2 separate regions of the Homo sapiens genome follow, and region 2 is linked to region 1. Evidence: promoter capture Hi-C in human tissues and cell types (Jung and others, 2019). All regions are on one chromosome and are shown on one strand. Each heading gives the region's core, a stretch centred on a gene start or on the middle of the fragment in contact. The rest is flanking DNA. Distances are from core to core; before and after follow the strand shown. Region 1 holds the start of TSKS (testis specific serine kinase substrate). Region 2 overlaps VRK3 (VRK serine/threonine kinase 3).

Region 1 (3,945 bases), core at 1-2,500:
GCAGGGGGCCCAGCCAGTGTGAGTTGGCCGCTGAGGTCTTCCACTGTGGAGTCTGTCCCCGTGGAGTCAGTGGGCTCCATGGCGGCCAGGTTGAGCAGTGACACGTTGGTGCAGGCCGAGGACCGTTTGAGGTTCAGGCACCAGTGCATGGGCTGATGGGACATCTGGGGCTCCACCCTGCAGAGAAGAAACAGGCAGAAAAGTGGAGAAGCAGCCCCAGGGTGTCTGGGCCCTCCTGCCTTCCTTTCTCCATACCTCACCCCCTGTGACTCCACCCTCACTGTATATAAGTTTCTCCCTTCTCTGTCCCCGCTGCCTACTTTATTCTCCTTCCCTGTGCTGCCTACTTTCTTTCTTTTTTCTTTCTTTCTTTTTTTTTTTTTTTTGAGACAGAGTCTCACTCTGTTGCCCAGGCTGGAGTGCAGTGGCGCGATCTCAGCTCACTGCAACCTCCGACTGCGGGTCCCAGTTCAAGCAATTCTCCTGCCTCAGCCTCCTGAGTAGCTGGGGTTATAGGCATGTGCCATCACGCCCAGCTAATTTTAGTATTTTTAGTAGAGATGGCTTTTCACCATGTTGGCCAAGCTGGTTTTGAACTCCTGACCTCATGATCCACCTGCCTCGGCCTCCCAAAGTGCTGGGATTACAGGCGTGAGCCACCGTGCCCGACCACCACTGTCTACTTTCTTCTTCTCCTTCCCCGCTGCCTACTTTCTCCTCCCTTCTCTGCCACCTACTTTCTTCTTCATTCACTAGCCTCCCTTCTCCTTCTTCCCTCCCCACTGGCTTTTTCCTCTCTCCATCCATCCCCATTACCTTCTTCCTCCCTCCATCCATCCCCATTACCTTCTTCCTCTCTACCTCCCTGTGACTTGATGTCTCTTCACTGCTGCCCTCTTTCCTGCCCCCGACCTGCTGGCTTTTCCCCCTCCCCTTCCTCTAGCACCCACAGTCGGACTCCTGCTCTGTTGGAGGTAGTGCTGGGCATTAGAACCATCCCTGACAGTGTGCAACAAACCCACCCGTGGAACGACACGGCCTTCTTTTTCTTCGGGATCCCCTTGGCCCGGCTGGTCACCCTCCGGGGAGCCTCTGGGACTAGCTGGGAGCAGCTCTCCACCCCCGTGGGGGTGTCCCCGGCCTCATGGATCTCTTTGGACTGCCAGATCGTCTTCACCACCACGCTCGCCATGGTGTGGGGGTCTGGCTCCCAGGGAGGGGCTCCTTCCTCTGAGACTTCCTACCTACTGTGACCACAGACCCTCAGGATCCACTGTCCCCTCAGCCTGCCTCACAAAGGACCCAACCACTGGGCCCCAGTGAGTGGGGGGCACAGGGTAGGGAGAGATGCTGGCCCAGGTCATTCCCCTAGGGTTCTCAGTGGACTCCTCCTGTTCAGGATTCTAGTTACATGCCCAATGTGCCCCCCGTCTTCAGAGCTCCAGTGGATGGATTCATGCTAGCCTGTAACTTAACAATGGGTCGGCCCACGGATTCTTGGGAGAGGTCCAACTTCCCTCTCCCTGAGACTAAGCGTGGGGTCACACAGCCCTGTGCACTTGTTCTTGATTCTTCATGTAGCTTCCTGGATTTGACAATTGGCTGGGGTTTGAGAGACTGTGGTCGAAGAGGGCTGAGATCCAGACCCTGACCTGGAGGGTCTCATATTCTATGGGGCGTCGGGGTCGGGGGAAAGGCAATATACAGGTAGATCAACAAAAGAAAGCTAGGTGCGGTGGGCCTCGGGGTCAGGGTAGAAGGTGAGGGAGGAGAGGAAGGTAGAGAGTTGGGGCAGGACAGAGGGTGGTATCCCCCTCCCCCGTTTATTTATTTATTATTTTCTTTAATACTTTTTATTTTTTTTGAGACAGAGTCTCTCTCTGTCATGGAGGCTGGAGTTCAGTGGCGCGATCTCAGCTCATTGCAACCTCCACCTCCCGGGGTTCAACCGATTCTCCTGCCTCAGCCTCCCCAGTAGCTGGGACTACAGGCGCTGGCCACAATGTCCGGCTAATTTTTGTATTTTTAGTAGAGACGGGTTTCACCATGTTGGCCAAGTTGGTCTCAAACTCCCGACCTCAAATGGTCCACCCGCCTTAGCCTCCCAAAGTGTGGGATTACAGACATGAGCCACCATGCTCCGCTATAATTTTTTTTTTTTTTTTTTAGATGGAGTCTCGCTCTGACACCCAGGCTGGAGTGCAGTGGCGTGATCTTGGCTCATTGCAACCTCTACCTCCCAGTTTCAAGCGATTCTCCTGCCTCAGCCTCCTGAGTAGCTGGGACTACAGGTACCTGCCACCACACCCATCTAATTTTTTTTTTGTATTTTTAGTAGAGACAGGGTTTCACTGTGTTGGCTAGGCTAGTCTCCAACTCCTGACCTCGTGATCTGCCCACTTCAGCCTCCCAAAGCATTGGAATTACAGGTGTGAGCCACTGCGCCCCGCCCGCCCAAAGTATTTAAAAAATATATGGAACATGTCACAAATTTGCATGTGGTCTTTGCGCAGGGCCCATGCTAATCTTCTCTGTATCGTTCCAATGTTAATACATGTGCTGTCGAAGCGAGCACTGCCCTGCTATTTAGGGACAGACTTTTCCTGTTCTCTTCACACTTCTCAAAAAGACTAGTTCAAACATCACTGCTAATAGACATTTTAAATGCTGTTATCCCCAGGGAGAAAGTACTTCTTCCTGGTCATGAATGGACTCCAGTTCTTGGAACACTTAATCTTTCTATAATAAAGAACTCCTGGCTGGGCGCGGTGTCTCACACCTGTAATCCCAGCACTTTGGGAGGCCGAGGCGGGCGGATCACCTGAGGTTAGGAGTTCAAGACCAGCCTGGCCAACATAGTGAAACACTGTCTCTACAAAAATACAAAAATTAGGCGAGCATGATGACGGGTGCCTGTAATCCCAGCTACTTAGGAGGCTGAGGCAGGAAAATCGCTTTAACTCGGGAGGAAGAGGTTACAGTGAGCCGAGATTGAGTCACTGAACTCCAGCCTGGGGGACAGAGAGAGACTCTGTCTCAAAAAAAAGAAAAAAAAAAAAGGCCGGGCGCAGTGGCTCACGCCTGTAATTCCAGCACTTTGGGAGGCCGAGGTGGGCGGATCACAAGGTCAGGAGATCGAGACCATCCTGGCTAACACGGTGAAACCCCGTCTCTACTAAAAACACAAAAAATTAGCCAGGCATGGTGGCGTGCGCCTGTAGTCCCAGCTACTTGGGAGGCTGAGGCAGGAGAATGGCGTGAACCCGGGAGGCGGAGGTTGCAGTGAGCTGAGATCGCGCCACTGCACCCCAGCCTGGGCGACAGAGCGAGACTCCATCTCAAAAAAAAAAAAAAAGAACTTCAAGTCCTGGGATTAATAATTTTTCTTGTGTTTAATGGGGCTGCTTTATGTTCTTCAGGGGCAAACAGCACCCCCCTCCCATATTAGAAATGGACTCTCCCTGTGACTAAAACAGCTGAGCAATTTCTGTCCTCCTGGAATCCAAAATGGACTTTCCCAGGCCCCATTCCTGGAAACCCAAATGGACGCATCCATTGAGCCTGGAAGGTGGGCTCTTCTCAACCTCCTTTCCATCTCCCAGGATTCAGAATGGCCATTCCAAAGGTCCAGAACACACCCCCAAGGCTCATTCCAGGAATTCTTGGCTTCTGAGATTAGAAAAGGCTGATGGGGTGGAGTTTTGTTCCTACAGGTGACAGAAATGGACTCTTCCAGTTCCCTTTGTCCCAAATTTCTCAATCTCCTGGGGCGTTGGGAGTTCTGGCCGTTTTGCCTTCCCCAAAGCCAGTTTACCAAAGAGTCTCTGGGGAGCTGGGGGTTGGGGATGGAGGCTGGGGCTGGGCCAAAGCAGATTCACCTATTTCTTCTTTTAACAAATGTTGTTGAAACTGTTCAAGGCCAGGTCCCATTCTTGCCCAGAAGGA
Region 2 (6,065 bases), core at 1,796-4,295, 240 kb after region 1:
CCTTTCCTGGCCCTGCCTATCTGTCCCTCTGTTATTAACACTGCCTACCTCTGCCTGGGAAGGACCCTGTACAGTTTTCCAAGTGCTTGGCCTCCATCTCCTATCATCATTTGAGCCAACAGCCCCAGGAGACAGGGGACAAGGCGTCATCTCACTTTTCCAGTGGAGGACATCAAGGCACAGAGTGCCTGGGCTGTTTGCTGGGGCTCCCTCAGTGTGTCGGAGCCAAGTCAGGACTCAGATTCGGGGCTGTCTGAAACACCAGCTGTCCTGCCCACCTGCCCAGACTTCAAGGCAGGGATGGCCAACGGAAGGCTCAAAATTGTCTACGTGCCTGTCTGGCCAGCAGGCACTTCCAATTCAAAGATTTCCTATTGAAATCTAGGTTTCAAGCTTTTCCTGGAAAACTTGGAAGATTCTGGAGCCCAGAGCCTAATAATTCACATCTCTGGGATCCATGTTCCTCATGTATAAAATGGGGATAGGGATAGTACTGACATCCTAAGGCTGCGGTGAGAATTTAGCAAACCTCTGCCCATCAAATAACTTGTAAGCAAATATTCATGGCAGCGTTACTCATAACAGCCCAAAGCGGAAACTACCCAAACGCCCATCAGCTGCTAAGTGGCTAAGCCACATGGGGTGTTCCCATACAGCAGAATATCACGCAGCCATAAAAGGAGTGCGGCAGTGACGCGCCACAGCATGGATGCACCTTGAGCACACGCCGCTGGGTGAGGGATGCCAGACACAAGAGGCCACACAGCGCAGGACTCCACTTCTGTGAACACCCAGAAGGGGCAAATCCACGGAGGGAGAAAGGCGGTTAGTGGCTGCCAGTGGACTGGGGGAAGAATCAGAGTGATGGCTCAGAACTACTGGGTTTCTTTTTGGGGTGACAGAAACGTCCTGGAATTAGATAGTGACGATGGTTGCATAACACTCTGAATATCCTGAAGGCCACTCAGTTGCACCCTTTAAAAGAATGAATTTTCGTGGTGGCTCATGCCTGTAATCCCAGCACTTTGGGAGGCTGAGGTAGGTGGATCACTTGAGGTCAGCTGTTCGAGACCAGCCTGGCCAACATGGTAACACCCTGTCTCTACTAAAAATACAAAAAATAAAAATAAAAAAATAAAAAAATTTAGCCCGGTGTGGTGGCATGCGCTTGTAATCTCAGCTACTTGAGAGGCTGAGGCAGGAGAATCGCTTGAACCTAGGAGGTGGAGGTTGTTAAAAGCCGAGATCGTGCCACTGCACTCCAGCCTGGGTGACAGAGCAAGACTCTCTCTCAAAAAAATAAAAAATAATAAATAATAATAATAAAAGAATAACTTTTTGTTTGACATGGAGTCTCACTGAATAATTTTTTTTTTTGAGACGGAGTCTCGCTCTGTCACCCAGGATGGAGTGCAGTGGTGCAACCTCGGCTCACTGCAAGCTCTGCCTCCCGGGTTCACGCCATTCTCCTGCCTCAGCCTCCCAAGTAGCTGGGACTACAGGTGCCAGCCACCACACCCGGCTAATTTTTTGTATTTTTAGTAGAGACAGGGTTTCACCGCGTTAGCCAGGATGGTCTCGATCTCCTGACCTCGTGATCCGCCTGTCTCGGCCTCCCAAAGTGCTGGGATTACAGGCGTGAGCCACCGCGCCTGGCCAATAAAAGAATAACTTTTATGTGAGTTTTATCTCAATTAAAAAGTTCCAAAAAGAAAAGAAAGGAAAAGAAAAACCCATGTAAAGTGCTTAGAACAGGCCTGGCCTTGCAGAAGCACTCAATATTTATTACAGTTAATACTAATACTACTGCCATAATTATTTTCCTCATTGTAACAGAGTCTGAGCTTTTCAGCCTTGTGCCTCCCTCCTCCCCTTCCATCCCACACCTGGGTGAGCGGATGAGCAAGCTTGGGTGCTCCCTCCTTTGGGGTGTGCATCCACGAGACTCAAACCATGCATGGTGTTGGCCCCTGTGCAGAAACCCTGAGCCCAGCCCCACCCCCAAGCACGATGAAACACCTGACCAGTCTCCTTTCCTCACTCTCAAGGCATCTCAGATCTGTGTGGGAGGCCTGCCTGCTCTCCACAGAGACCCCTATTATGTAAGCAATAAACCTCTCACATCCTCTTGGTGTGTGTGTGACATCATCAGTCTCGATGTTTGAACCAAATTTTACGTGGGGATCCATCCTCTCTCTGCACACTGGCCAGAACAACCATCCTTAACATGCAGCCCCTGGGCCTGCACTCCCACGTGACAATAGCAGGTAGCAGGTGGGGTGAGGAGGGGCACACTTCACACAGGGCACATGCCAACTGGCCGCAGTCCCCGCCACTCCCAACTGCCTTACTCCAGCCTGCTGCACTCATTCCCACTATTGCCCGGCCCTGCAGGTGGGTAGGTATAGAGTCCAAGGTCTAAGAGAAAGTTGCCTAGCGACAGGTCTGCAGCTAGGGATGTGGCTTCCATTCCCATTCTCAGAACGGGGTCCCCTCCCACTGTCCTGGTGCTGAGACGACCCAGTCCCTGGCCGCCCATGGACAGAGTGTACCTTCATAGAGAATGCCCTGGTTGTCCCTGGTCTGGAAGGACTTCAGCTTCCACTGTCGCCCACTCTTGTCTGTCAGCACTGTCCCTGTGGGCAAAGCTTCAAGTGAGGTGGTCACTCGGCTCCGCTTCAGCGTCTGAGGGCTCTGCCTGGTCTTCTGAGGGCTACAGCTGGTCTTCTGAGGGCTACCCCTGGTCACCTGAGGGCTCTTCCTGGTCTTCTGAGGGCTGCTTTTGGGGGTTGGGGGTCTGCTCCCGGAGCCTGCAGGAGGATGTAAGAATAAAGTAAAAGCACCATCCAGGAGAGAAAAGTTAGATGGGGAGTGAAACAGCACGCAAAATACTGTTCCTTTACAAATTCGTTCATTCAACAAACATTTCCTGGGACCTTCTATGAGTCAGGCCTTTGTGTGATGATGTTGGGGCACCAGATAGGAGTCGGACCTGCATCCTTCCCTCAGGAGTGCCCAGTTTGGTGGGCAAGTCTGCTCTAGACACAGCTAGTCAGATGCGGGTCTGAGACAGGGCAGTACAGACAGATATTAGGGCCCAAAAGAGAAAGAGATCCTGCCTGGAGAAGTCAGGGTAGGCTTCCTGGAGGAAGGGATGTTAGAGTTGGATCTTGTTGGATGAGGAGAAGTTTGCCAGGGAATAAAGGACATTCTAGACATTTACCCAAAAACATCCTGAAAAAGGACTCAGTCCTGAGATAGAAAAGGGCCAAAAAATTTGTTAGACCAAAGCCCTGCCCTAGAAGGGCTCCTAGCCTGGCAAGAGAATGGGGTGGGTGTGGTGGGAGACAGACTTGGACACAGGAAAAGACATCGCTTACTCTGTTCCTCCCACCCACCATCCCCTAAAGGCAAGTAATGGCAAGAGGCCTCTGGGCCCAGAGGATAATGAGGAGCAAAGGGGACGCCTCACACTGCCACTGTGGCTGTGGCTTCAGATCCAGGGGCTCAGTGAACAGGAGAAGGAACATAGTCCTCAGGCCTCCCGTGTCCTGGGCACTGGCTGGGCAGAGGGTATATACACTAATTGTGCTGGGTCCCTACCTGCAAAGGGCCCCCAGCCCAGAAAGTGAGGCCGAAAGGGATGTGGAGCCTAGACTGACATGCGCTCCAATGAAGGCTGCAGCAGGCACGGGGGGGCGCCAAAGAGGCTGGAAAGAGGCTCTGGCGGACGATGAGGAGGTCTGGATGCGAGCCTATGGCACTCAAGAGAAGCTTCCTAGAGACCAGTATCGGCTGAGTGGCAGTACACAAGGCCAAGAACGAAGGTGAGAGTGCCCTGGGCTGAGGGAACAGGCTTAGCAAAGACCAAGGTTAATCCCCAAAAGTGTTTTCTGGGCAAAGACTGTGTTGAGGGCTAAAGCAGGAACCAGGCCACACAGATACCAGACTGAAGAGCTTGGTCTGAGGGCACCAGGAACAGTAGGGGTCTGTGTGCAGGGAGGGGCCGGGGCAGCTCTAGGTGCTGAAAGACCCATCTGGGGCCATATAGAGGCAGACTGGAGGGGGAGATGGGAGGCTGGGGAAGCTGCTGGAGTCAGAGTCCAGGCAGGGATGGATGATGTTTGAGCCGGGGCTGTGGCAGTTTTGTCCCAAAGATCATCAGATGACCTAACTTTGCTCCACTTAAGAGTCAGGCCAGATAGACCTTAACTCTTACCTTTGGATCTCTCAGAGGAACTCAGAGTATCTTCAGACTCAGAACTGTCACCATCTGAGAAGAGGGATAATCGGGGAGAGGTGACGGTGCTGGACCATTTCACTTTCTTAGGAGAGGTTTCAAAACTGGAGTTCAGCCCTCTCTTTGAGCCTAAAGAAAGGCAGACAAAATGCAGACTGGAGTTACAAAGGCCCCTCTGCAGGCACCATTGGACTGGGAGCCCTGAGGTTATACTCAGCTATGCTGTTCTCTTTGGCCCTCAACACCAATTCTTGCTTCTTCTATTATGTAAATATATGAGCAAACTGTTCCTTTTAGTTGTTCTCTCCTTCTTAGGTCTTTGCCTCTCTTGTATCTTCCAGCACTTTGCCACTCTGTGTCCTTTCCACATAATGTCTTTATATGTATGTATATTTGAGATGGAGTCTCACTCTGTTGCCCAGGCTGGAGTGCAGTGGTGCAATCTTGGCTCACTGCAACCTCTGCCTCCTGGGTTCAAGCAATTCTCCTGCCTCAGCCTCCCAAGTAGCTAGGATTACAGGCATGCACCAACATGCCTGTAATGTTGCTAATTTTTATAGTTTTAGTAGAGATGGGGTTTCACCATGTTGGCCAGACTGGTTTTGAACTCCTGACCTCAAGTGATCGGCCAGCCTCAGCCTTCCAAAGTGCTGGGATTACAGGCATGAGCCACCATGCCTGGCCTCTTCCATGTAATTTCTTAAAATCTATCTTCCAGTTAACTAATTCTCCCAGCTATGTCTAGTCTGCTGTTTAAACCACCCACCGAGTTTCTGATTACAATAATTATTTTATATATATATACACACACACACACATATACACACATACAATGATTGTGTGTATATATATACACACATACACATATATACATATATAGACACACACATATACATATACACACATACAATCATTAGAGTTTTTATTTGGTTCCTTCTCTTATTTGCCTGTGCAACTTTAACCTATTCCTTCATTATACTTTCAATTTGTTATTTTATTTATTTAAATGTATTAAGCATGCTTTGTAAACATTCTCATCTATTAATTCTAAAGTCTGTGGTCTTGGCAGGTCCGATTCTGCAGTTTGTTGTTTCTGCTGACTCTCCAGCTAGCTTATTTCCTGGTGTCTTTGTAAATCAACAGAGACTGGTACTCATGATCCTTGGATGTTGACCTGTGGTAATTCCCTGATGTTTGTCTTTAAAGGATGTTTTCCAAGAGAAGATTTGTTTATATCAGGCAGGGAGTGGTACCCACATCTCACCACTTTAAGTTAAATGTTCAGCTTGCATTTTGGGGGACCACACAGATCAGTGTGAATTCTGGCCCCAAACTGGTGAGAACGTGAATTCTTGGTTAGGAACTCTCCAAGAAGGCTGGGCGTGGTGGCTCATGCCTGTAATCCCAGCACTTTGGGAGGCCAGGGCGGGTGGATCGCCTGAGGTCAGGAGTTTGAGGCCAGCCTGTCCAACATGGTGAAACCCCGTCCCTACTAAAAATATAAGAATTAGCTGGGTGTGGTGGCAGGTGCCTGTAAACCCAGCTACTTGAGAAGCTGAGGCAGGAGAATCGCTTGAACACGGGAGGTGGAGGTTGCAGTGAGCCAAGATTACACCACTGCACTCTAGCCTGGATGACAGAGTGAGACTGTGTCTCAAAACAAAAACAAAAACAAAAAACAAAAAACAAAAACAAAAAAGGGAATTCTCAAAGAAGACATTCCTCCTTTATTTACCCACCACCAAGGCGACAAATGTCTCCACCAATTTTCTGTGGAACAATTGCTTTTGTTGTAGTTCACCCACTGAGGAGCCCCAGATTTGAG

The links. The method cuts DNA at HindIII sites, captures the fragments that hold promoters and counts their contacts. A contact is called where the count stands out against the background at its distance.
Region 2: a contact is called between a fragment that was not itself captured here and the fragment with the promoter of TSKS in region 1, in 2 of the 25 tissues and cell types used here (lymphoblastoid cells and spleen).

What each region holds. Positions count from the first base shown.
Region 1 is chr19:49,762,056-49,766,000 of GRCh38, forward strand. It overlaps TSKS (testis specific serine kinase substrate), which reads right to left and starts at 1,251. Exons shown (of 11, transcript NM_021733.2): 1 at 1,023-1,251; 2 at 1-177. The coding sequence starts at 1,192. It also overlaps the pseudogene RNU6-841P. RefSeq lists enhancers at 1-4, 3,611-3,945. The HindIII fragment of the contact is 39,317 bases long and covers 1-3,945 here.
Region 2 is chr19:50,005,017-50,011,081 of GRCh38, forward strand. It overlaps VRK3 (VRK serine/threonine kinase 3), which reads right to left. Exons shown (of 15, transcript NM_016440.4): 4 at 4,220-4,369; 5 at 2,553-2,810. Among named protein-coding and RNA genes, the nearest start is that of VRK3, 17 kb to the right of the region's middle. The HindIII fragment of the contact is 3,791 bases long and covers 1,151-4,941 here.